3 separate regions of the Homo sapiens genome follow, and all the other regions are linked to region 2. The links are contacts of gene promoters, found by promoter capture Hi-C in human tissues and cell types (Jung and others, 2019). All regions are on one chromosome and are shown on one strand. The core of a region is centred on a gene start or on the middle of the fragment in contact, and the rest is flanking DNA. Distances in the headings are between cores, read along the strand shown. Region 1 overlaps MATN2 (matrilin 2). Region 2 holds the start of MATN2 (matrilin 2). Region 3 overlaps LAPTM4B (lysosomal protein transmembrane 4 beta).

Region 1 (3,196 bases), core at 389-2,888, 45 kb after region 2:
CCCTTTATGTAACAGGGAAATTGAATCCAGTCGTTCAAGTCCTTTTTCAGCCTTCAAATTTGCAGACCCTAAATGCTTTTCTATTATCGGGTCTTGAATAAATACCATTCCACTTCATTAAAACTGCTGTCTTTTTAACTTGTCTTCATCTTAATGATCATCTACAAGAAAGACTATTTGCAGAAGAGCCTAGAAACCAAGTCACCAAGCCTGTGAGAGATTCCTGAAATGTTATTTCTGGCTTCCATAGCAACCCTAACATAGGGCGTTAAGCTTAACGGAGTCAGCGAGAGCAGCTGGAGCCGGGCATTGAAGCGCTGAGAGCGCTGAGGAAACAAATCGTTGGCTCAATAGTTTTCCTTTTGTGTAATATACTGTCCCAGTGTGTTTAGGGAGTTACGACTTCTGCCAAGTAAGAATGGAGGAAATGAAGCATTGTATCAAAGTGTACAGAGTTTCCAAGCAAATTGGAGGATGAGTACAAGTCTGTGTCTAGGGGAGTCTCTGCAGAAGATGAGGGTGGGCCTGCAGAGACGTAGGGGTGGGGAGGAGGGGCAGCTCTGCTTTCCCCAACCTTGGGTGACTAGGCCTTCAGGTCAGCTTTGTGAAGAGGACTGAGCATGCCTGGTTGCCTTTTCTGTTCCACCCCGTTTGCCGACCTCAGTAGAGAGTGGGGGTGATACGTGAGTGAGGCATCAAAGAGGCCAAGATGCTGAGGATGACAGAGGCAGATATGCTGAGGCTGACGGAGCCACCAGGGCCAGTGCAGGAAACAGAGCTCTCTAGGTATTTCAGGAAGAAAAAGATTTAACACGGGGAATTCGGTTATATAGTTGTTGGAAGGGCTGGAGGAGTGGGAGCCCAGGGACCACCACGCAAGAGCACCTCACTGGGATCAGGATGGTGCTGCCACCAGAACTGACGTCTGTGCAGCTGCTGAGCAGACACCAGAACACGAAGTCTGGCTGCCGCAACTAACTGGCTTTCTAAAACCTTGCTTGCTGGCAGAGCCACCATCCACCCCACTTCATCCTTTGTGAATATATTGAATTGGGGTTCCCCAATTCTTACCCAGAACCCTAGCTGCCTGAAAGATAGTCTGGGAAATATTTGTTTTGTCCTTTTAGCTTCTGCAACGCTGGAAGACTCATGGGGAGAGTTGGGAGTTCATGCCAAGTGCCAATGGACATGGACAGCAATCGATTTTTTTTTTTTTTTTTTGAGATGGAGTCTTGCTTTGTTGCCTAGGTTGGAGTGCAGTGGCACGATCTTGGCTCACTGCAGCCTCTGCCTCCCGGGTTCAAGTGATTCTCTTGCCTCAGCCTCCCAAGTAGCTGGGATTACAGGTGCACACCACCACACCCAGCTAAATTTTGTATTTTTAGTAGAGACGGGGTTTCGCCATGTTGGCCAGGCTGGTCTTGAACTCCTGACCTCAGGTGATCTGCCTTCCTCGGCCTCTCAGAGTGCTAGGATTACAGGTATATGCCACTGCACCCTGCCATTTTTTTTTTTTTTTTTGAGATGGAGTCTCACTGTGTCGCCCAGGCTGGATTGCAGTGGTACAATCTCGGCTCACTGCAACCTCTGCCTCCCGGGTTCAAGCAATTCTCCTGCCTTAGTCTACCAAGTAGCTGGGACTACAGGCACGTGCCACCACGCCCAGCTAATGTTTGTATTCTTAGTACAGATGGGGTTTTGCCATGTTGGCCAGGCTGGCCTCGAACTCCTGACCTCAGCCGATCCGCCCGCCTTGGCCTTCTAAAGTGCTGGGATTACAGGCATGGGCCACCTTGCTCAGCCTGATATTTATTTCATTTGAAATTTGGATTAAATAGGTAGAGGAGTTGAACACCAAATAGAGATGAGTTGAAAGGGCCCATCGTTGACCTAAACTATTTGCTCCACCATCTGAAAGTCCTTTGGGATTAAGTCCAGGGTTAGATAACAGAGGGGCAGAAACTCAACTCCCAGAGACAAAGGAGTGGCCTTAACATTCTCTCTGGTGCCTTCTCTATTAGTATATACATAAGGAAACATTAATTTACACCCAAGAGTAGGCTGGGAGCTTGGATGGGAGGGGAAGCAGGGTTGGGGGTCAGGCCTGGAGAGATTGGCTTTGGGCTGGGCCATAGATGGAGAAGACTGAAGTCTGGGCTGTCAGGAACCCTTAGAATAAGCCTAAAATAGGAAGGGCACATCTAAAACCCTTCAGTGCTCCTCGTTTGTCCTAATAAAATCCAGACCTTTTTTTTTTTTTTTTTTTTTTTTTTTTTTGGAACAGGGTCTTGCTCTGTGGCCCAAGCTGGAGAGCAGTGGCACAATAATGGCTTACTGCATCCTCACCCTCCAGGGCTCAAGCCATCCTCCTGCTTCAGCCTCCCATGTAGCGAGGACTACAGGCCTGCACCATTACACCCGGCTACTTTTTTTTTTTTAATCTATTGTAGAGAGGGGGTCTCAAACTCCTGAGCTCAAGTGATCCTCTTGCCTCAGCCTCCCAAAGTGCTGAGATTACATGTGTGAGCCACTGTGCCCTGCCTGAAGTCCAGACTTCTTATGCAGGAGGCACATGCCGTCCACCCACATGGCCCTGTCTTCCCCAACTTGTCCTTTAGGACCCAGCCTTGCCACATCACCTGTGGTTACCTGGGTGCGTGTGCATCCCACTCTGTTCTGGCCTCCAGCTTTTGCATACGCTGCCCTTTTACCTAAATGCACACCCCAGCTTGTTGCCTGGTCAACACCTGCTCACCTTATAATAACATCATCCTATTATAATACTCATCACCTTGTCCAGGGATCTTCCCCCACCCCCTATCTTGGGACTGGTGATCTACTCCAGGCTCTAGTCACTCGTCCTTTTTTGTTGTTGCTTTGTTTTTTGTTTTTAGAGACAGAGTCTCTCTCTGTTGCCCAGGATAAAGTGCAGTGGTGTAATCATAGCTCACGGCAACCTTGACCTCTTGGGCTCAAGCGATCCTCCCGCCTCAGCCTCCCAAGTAACTGGGACTACAGGCGCACGCCATCATGCTTGGCTTGTGAAAAAACTTTTTTTTTTGTAGTGATGTGGTATCACCATGTTGCCCAGGCTGGTCTCTAACTGCTGGGCTCAGGCAGTCCTCCTGCCTTAGCCACCCAAAGTGCTGGGACTATAGGTGTGAGCCATCGTGCCTGGCCTGCTCATATTTTTTAT
Region 2 (3,230 bases), core at 348-2,847:
TCAGAGACCAAACATTTCCTGAAGACTTTCCTCTGCTTTCTGACCTCCACCTACCTCCTCCCAAAGACATAACAAAAAAACTATTTGTGATCAGTGCAGGCAGCCAAGAGTGCCCAGTGGGCCTAAGGTACTGGGTAAAGGAACAGGAATCCACAATTCTTTCTTGGTATTAAGGTATCATTGACTTGCCTGATGGCTCGAGTATGTTAACCCCTTGCTTCATGGCTGGAATTTTAATTACCCCTCCTGGAGCTTTTCTGAAGAATTGATTTTGGCGTTTATTCATATTTCAGAAATCAACTCTATCATCAAATAGGAATGATGGTTAATTACAAAACAAAGTCCGCCCAAAGCACCAAATTATCAGACTGTGGCACATCCAGAGGTTTTGAAACTAGTTAGTGCTGCTGCCTCTGCTGGTAGCTTGTTAAAACCTGAACTGGGGCCGGGCGCAGTGGCTCACGCCTGTAATCCCAGCACTTTGGGAGGCCGAGGCGGGCGGATCACGAGGTCAGGAGATCGACACCATCCTGGCTAACACGGTGAAACCCCGTCTCTACTGAAAATACAAAAAAAATTAGCCGGCCGTGGTGGCGGGAGCCTGTAGTCCCAGCTACTCTGAGGCAGGAGAATGGCGTGAATCCGGGAGGCAGAGCTTGCAGTAAGCCAAGATTGCGCCACTGCACTCCAGCCTGGGCGACTCCGTCTCAAAAAACAAACAAACAAACAAAAACACAAAACCTGAACTGGGTGCGTTGGCTAGTGGTTTGGGAACAGAATTTTGGAGCTTTATAGGAGATGTCCTGGTCTGTTATACATCCACTCACCCCAGCCTCCAGGAACTGGGGAGCTGGTAGAGGGGGGTGCCGGCCACTTTGACTGTCGCTGGCCAATCCTGTCTTCTGCATCCCTCCAAGGCTCCATGGGGACATCCAAGGTGAGGTTCCTCCATTCTGCAAAGTTGCAAATGTCTCTGCTCATAATTTCAAAAGTCTTGTCTGAACTAGACTTTCCCTGCTCCCTCGGGGTAGGAATTTTGTCTCCTCTCCATCCTGGCATCTTTACCTCCTCCCCATCCCGGGGCCTGGTCCCCAGCCAGTGGACGCTCTGTTAATATGAACTGGCACTGGTGGGGTGCTCTGGGCACTGGCAAGACAGCTCTTGGCGCTTGTCATCAATTAGCCCAATTCTCACCACTTTTTTCTCCATCCCCGCGTCAGTGGGTGCGTCCCGCAGGTCATGACCCCAAGTTCTAGATGTAAGATTCCTGCCATGTCTCCTTTCCCCCAGAAGACCCCTCCCCGCACTCCCAACCCGACAGGCCCCTAAAGCTGCCTGTGTTCCGTGCCTGCGGCTCCGGACCCCTGGAGTCTGATGCCCGCCTGGGCTCAGGCACGGACGGAGTGGAGCCAGGTGGCAGCAGGCAGGGCGCGCCGCCAGAGTGCCCAGCTCCCGGGGCTGCCCACAGGGTGGGGCCGCCCTCGCCGCCGCTCCCTCTCCGCGCCTTCCCCATCCCCAAAGAGGACACCCCTCCTTCCGCCCGGCCCGCTCCCCACCCCCGCCGCGGCACCGCCTCCCCAGCCGCCCGCCCTTGCCCAGCGCCTCCCAGGCAGCCAGCGAGCGAAGGGAGCGCTCTGGGATGGGACTTGGAGCAAGCGGCGGCGGCGGAGACAGAGGCAGAGGCAGAAGCTGGGGCTCCGTCCTCGCCTCCCACGAGCGATCCCCGAGGAGAGCCGCGGCCCTCGGCGAGGCGAAGAGGCCGACGAGGAAGACCCGGGTGGCTGCGCCCCTGCCTCGCTTCCCAGGCGCCGGCGGCTGCAGGTGAGCGCGGCGCGCTTTCCCCCGGCTCTGCGCGGCCGGGCGGCCTCGAAGTGCAGGCGGACCGACCCACCGACAGAATACCGAGCCTGGGCTGCCCGACGCGCAGGCGCCCTCCCCAGGCCCGCACTGCAGCCCCCAGCGCCCCGGGGCCCCGGCGCCTTCGACCCCTCCGAGGACAGGGGGAGAGGGAGGGCGGCGCTGCCCGACCCCTCGGCCGGGAGAGCTGGGCGCGCTCCCTGCGCAGGACAAGCCGCGCTGCAGCCGCCCCGGAGTGCCCCGTGGGGGCGCTGTGGCACGCAGCGGGGACGCCCAGACCCCGGCCACCGCGACCCAGGGAAAGGGAGACCTGTTGAGCGGGTATGCAGGGTGATTCCTATTCCACGGACAGCCGATGGCTCCCCCTTCCCTCTTCGGAACCTGGTATTTTCATGCCCGTGTCATCTGGATTTTGTTCTTGGGTCTCTATGGCAGCTAAACCTCCAGCTTCCCTATATTGTGGAAGAGGGAGAGAAAGGGGAAGGCATTTTGTGGTAGTTGCTAGAAACCCCAGAACAATTTGGAGCCGTTTGGGGAGAGGACAGAGAAATGGGGACTGTCCCTGGTAGGGTCTCCAGGACTGGGGGCACAGGAAAGTGCTCTCCTCAGGGACACTCGCGCCCACCCTGAACAAACCCAATTGACCAAGTTTCAATTTGTCATAAATCAGGAAGCCACAATGCATCTGCACCAAGCACACTTAAAATCGGCCTTTAAGGAATGGGGCAGTCAAGAGACTTCAGGGACCCGTGGTCGAGAGCAGAGACTGGGGTCAGCCTGCTTGGGTTTCAACCCCAGCTGTGAAGTTTACAGGGTTGATAACTTGAAGGTACCCAAGTATGCCTCAGTTTCCTCATCTGTCTAATGAGGATGGTAATACCCACAGAACTGTGAGGATTAAATGAGATATGGCGGCCGGGCACGGTGGCTCAGGGCTGTCATCCCAGCACTTTGGGAAGCCGGGGCGGGCGGATCACCTGAGGTCGGGAGTTCGAGACCAGCCTGACCAACATGGAGAAACCCCGTCTCTACTAAAAATACAAAATTAGCCGGACTTGGTGGCGCATGCCTGTAATCCCAGCTACTCGGGAGGTTGAGGCAGGAGAATCGGTTGAACCCAGGAGGCAGAGATTGCAGTGAGCGGAGATGGTGCCATTGCACTCCAGCCTGGGCAACAAGAGCTAAACTCCGTCTCAAAAGAAAAAAAAAAAGATATGGCAAGTAAAGTCCTTAGAACATTTCCAGGAGCATTCTAAGATTAGGTGAGTTCCATGGCTTGTCTTTGCAGAAATAGCAAGGAGCTGCTATGAGCAGTGAATGTACCTCTTCCCCAGTTCAGAAAGAGAGGCTCTCCATGGGTACGTGAGGGTGGC
Region 3 (3,273 bases), core at 505-3,004, 51 kb before region 2:
AGCTGGGAGAGGTGGCACACGCCTGTGACCCTAGCCACTCGGGAGGCTGAGGCAGGAGAATTGCTTGAACCTGGGAGGTGGAGGCTGCAGTGAGCCAAGATCACGCCACTGCACTCCAGCCTGGGCAATAGAGTGAGATCTCATCTAAAAAAAAAGAAAAATCAAAAGAAAGTGGAAAGAAAGTGGAACACTGCTGTATACTAGCTCCCAAATTTGTTTGACCATAGAATCCCTTTCTCAAGCATCATTTTGGGACTAGTTTACGGTTAAATGTCCTTTGTGACCATATGAGTGAATATTGGTGGCAGGGTATTAAGAAGCTTATAATGGCTATGAGGTTGGAATAACTTTATTTATTTTTGGGACAGGGTCTCTGTCACCCAGGCTGGAGTGCAGTGGTGTGATTATGGCTTGCTGCAGCGTTGACCTCCCAGGCTCCCGTGATCCTCCCATCTCAACCTCTTGAGTAGCTGGCACTATAGGCATGCACCACCATGCCCACCTAATTTTTCTTTTTGTATCTTATGTAGAGATGGGGTTTCACCATGTTGCCCAGGCTTGTCTCAAACTCCTAGACTCAAGTGATCCTCCAGCCTTGGCCTCCCAAAGTGCTGGCATTATAGATGTGACTCACTGTACCAGGCCAACTTTACTTTTTTTTTTTTTTTTTTTTGAGACAGAGTCTCACTCTATCACCTAGGCTGGAGTGCAGTGTTGTGATCTCGGCTCACTGCAACCTCCGCCTCCCTGGGTTCAAGCCATTCTCCTGCCTCAGTCTCCTGAGTAGCTGGGATTACAGGCACCCGCTACCAAGCCTGGCTAATTTTTTGTATTTTTAGTAGAGATGGGGTTTCACCATCTTTTCCAGGCTGGTCTCAAACATTTAGCCTCAGAGGATCCACCCTCATCGGCCTCCCAGAGTGCTAGGAATACAGGCGCCCACTACCATGCCTGGCTAATTTTTGTATTTTTTTTTTAGTAGAGGTGGGGTTTTGCCATGTTGACCAGGCTGGTCTCGAACTCCTGACCTCAGGTGATCCGCCCACCTTGGCCTCCCAAAGTGCTGAGATTACAGGCGTGAGCCACCATGCCCAGCCTGCAACCTCAATCTTCTGGGCTCAAGTGATCCTTCCACCTTAGCCTCCCAAGTAGTTTGGACTACAGACATGCACCACCATGCCCGGCTAAATTTGTATTTTTAGTAGAGATGGGGTTTGACTATGTTGTCCAGGCTGGTCTCAAACACCTGCACTCAAGCAATCTGCCTGCCTCAGCCTCCCAAAGTGCTGAAATTACAGGCATGAGCCACTGTGCTTGGCCAAGTTATTTTATTAATAAAAGAGTAAAGTTGCATGATCTGATCACAAAGAATGACGATTTTATTTCTTAGATATTTTGTCCCAAGTGAAAGGAGACTGAAAACCATTAGGTGGTGTTCACCCTGGTGAGCAGGAGCCAAGCCCATGAGTCATGGGCCTTCTCCATGTTCTTCCTCAACATTGGAAACAACTTTGTTTTGGAATATTGCTCGTGAGGAATCCAAACACATAGTGTTGAATGGTGAAGGGAGATAAAAGATGAGATAGCACAGTAGGCTGCCTTCCCATTCACTTGCCTAGGCCAGTGATGTAGGCGTTGATCAATGCTGTGTGAGTGTTCTGTGGGGAAAGTCCGGCAACTCCCTCTAACCATAGTAGCAGACTTTGATCCTCCTGAAAAGGTTCCCTTTGACCTGGTTGTTAAGCATTGTGGATGGTAGTGCTTGATTATTTCCCCCCACCCTGGAAGTACTTGCTAGTATAAGAGAATATGCTGTCTTGGGAGAAGTACCATCAACAAAAATGCTCTTTGCAAAGAAGACCTCATTTTAGTAGGTTTCTGTCCCTTGCCCTGCATATGCCCTTTAGAATGGTTCAGAACTTTTGAGACATGGTCTGGCTCTGTCGCCCGGGCGGCTGGAGTGCAGTGGCATGATCTCGCTCACTGCAACCTCCACCACCAGGGCTCAAGTGATTTGCTCACCCCAGCCTCCCAAGTAGCTGAGCTGGGCGACAGAGAGAAACTCCATCTCAAAAAAGAAAAAAAAAAAAAAAAGGAATGGTTCAGAACTTGCAGAGAATACAAATTTCAGAGATCCCTGGATATACAAAATGTCCCTGGATACCGATCACTGACGTCTTTTATATGGTAAGAGGGCAGAGTCAGGCTAGAAATTTTGTATTGGTTCTAAATAATAGCTGTCTGCTTTAATCAGTTGCTTTCTGATAAGCATGTCTGAATTGGTGCCCAAGGAATACTGTCTGGAATGATTAATGAGATTTGCTAATGAGGCCCTTTTCTTTTGCAGCCTCCTAATTTTCCCTACAGAGATGATGTCATGTCAGTGAATCCTACCTGTTTGGTCCTTATTATTCTTCTGTTTATTAGCATTATCTTGACTTTTAAGGTAAGCATGAAGATTTTACTTATAGTCTAAAAATATTAAGTGTATTCCTGAATACCAAATAAGTAAACAAACTTTGGTCAGTTTATTGTCTTTCTTTGGACATCCAAATTGCTTTTTGATTTCCTAAGATTACAATTCTTTATGCTGTCTATGTTGGAGGTAAACACTAATCAAAATTCCACAGTTTGATCAAGGAGTCCAAAATATATTTGGACAGAGATAAGTTAACATAATGTTATACATTACATAGTATATGATATTGCAACGTCTGTTACAAGGTCTGTGTAATGGATATTCTTTTGTAATTTTTTGCTAAAAGTGTAATATTTTCTGAATATTGTTCTATCTCAATCCATTATATGAATATCATTATTTAATAAATTACTTGATGAGCATTGAGACATTTTTTACTTTTTCACTTAATAGGGCTGTAGTGAATATATTTAAGTACATCCTTATATTTATGCATTTATCTCAAGATAAATTTCCTTTTTTTTTTTTTTTTTTTTTTTTTGAGATGGAGTCTCGCTCTGTCGCCCAGGTTGGAGTGCAGTGGCGCAACCTCGGCTTACTGCGAGCTTCGCCTCCCGGCTTCACGCCATTATCTTGCCTCAGCCTCCCCAGTAGGTGGGACCACAGATACCCGCCACCATGCCCAGCAAATTTTTTTGTATTTTTAGTAGAGATGGGGTTTCACTGTGTTAGCCAGGATGGTCTCGATCTCCTGACCTCATGATCCGCCCACCTCGGCCTCCCAAAGCTGGGATTACAGGCATGAGCCACTGTGCCCGGCTTCAAGATAAATTTCTTAAAATCAGGGTGTTCAT

Evidence for each region. Contacts are between HindIII fragments. The study calls those that stand out against the background at their distance.
Region 1: a contact is called between a fragment that was not itself captured here and the fragment with the promoter of MATN2 in region 2, in 2 of the 25 tissues and cell types used here (bladder and mesenchymal stem cells).
Region 3: a fragment that was not itself captured here is called in contact with the fragment with the promoter of MATN2 in region 2 in 2 of the 25 tissues and cell types used here (aorta and spleen).

What each region holds. Positions count from the first base shown.
Region 1 is chr8:97,912,112-97,915,307 of GRCh38, forward strand. The region is part of intron 2 of MATN2 (matrilin 2); the gene reads left to right. Among named protein-coding and RNA genes, the nearest start is that of MATN2, 45 kb to the left of the region's middle. The HindIII fragment of the contact is 4,576 bases long and covers 1-3,196 here.
Region 2 is chr8:97,867,467-97,870,696 of GRCh38, forward strand. It overlaps MATN2 (matrilin 2), which reads left to right and starts at 1,598. Exons shown (of 19, transcript NM_002380.5): 1 at 1,598-1,821. RefSeq lists an enhancer at 699-1,198. The HindIII fragment of the contact is 19,586 bases long and covers 1-3,230 here.
Region 3 is chr8:97,816,793-97,820,065 of GRCh38, forward strand. It overlaps LAPTM4B (lysosomal protein transmembrane 4 beta), which reads left to right. Exons shown (of 7, transcript NM_018407.6): 5 at 2,348-2,446. Among named protein-coding and RNA genes, the nearest start is that of LAPTM4B, 43 kb to the left of the region's middle. The HindIII fragment of the contact is 7,378 bases long and covers 1-3,273 here.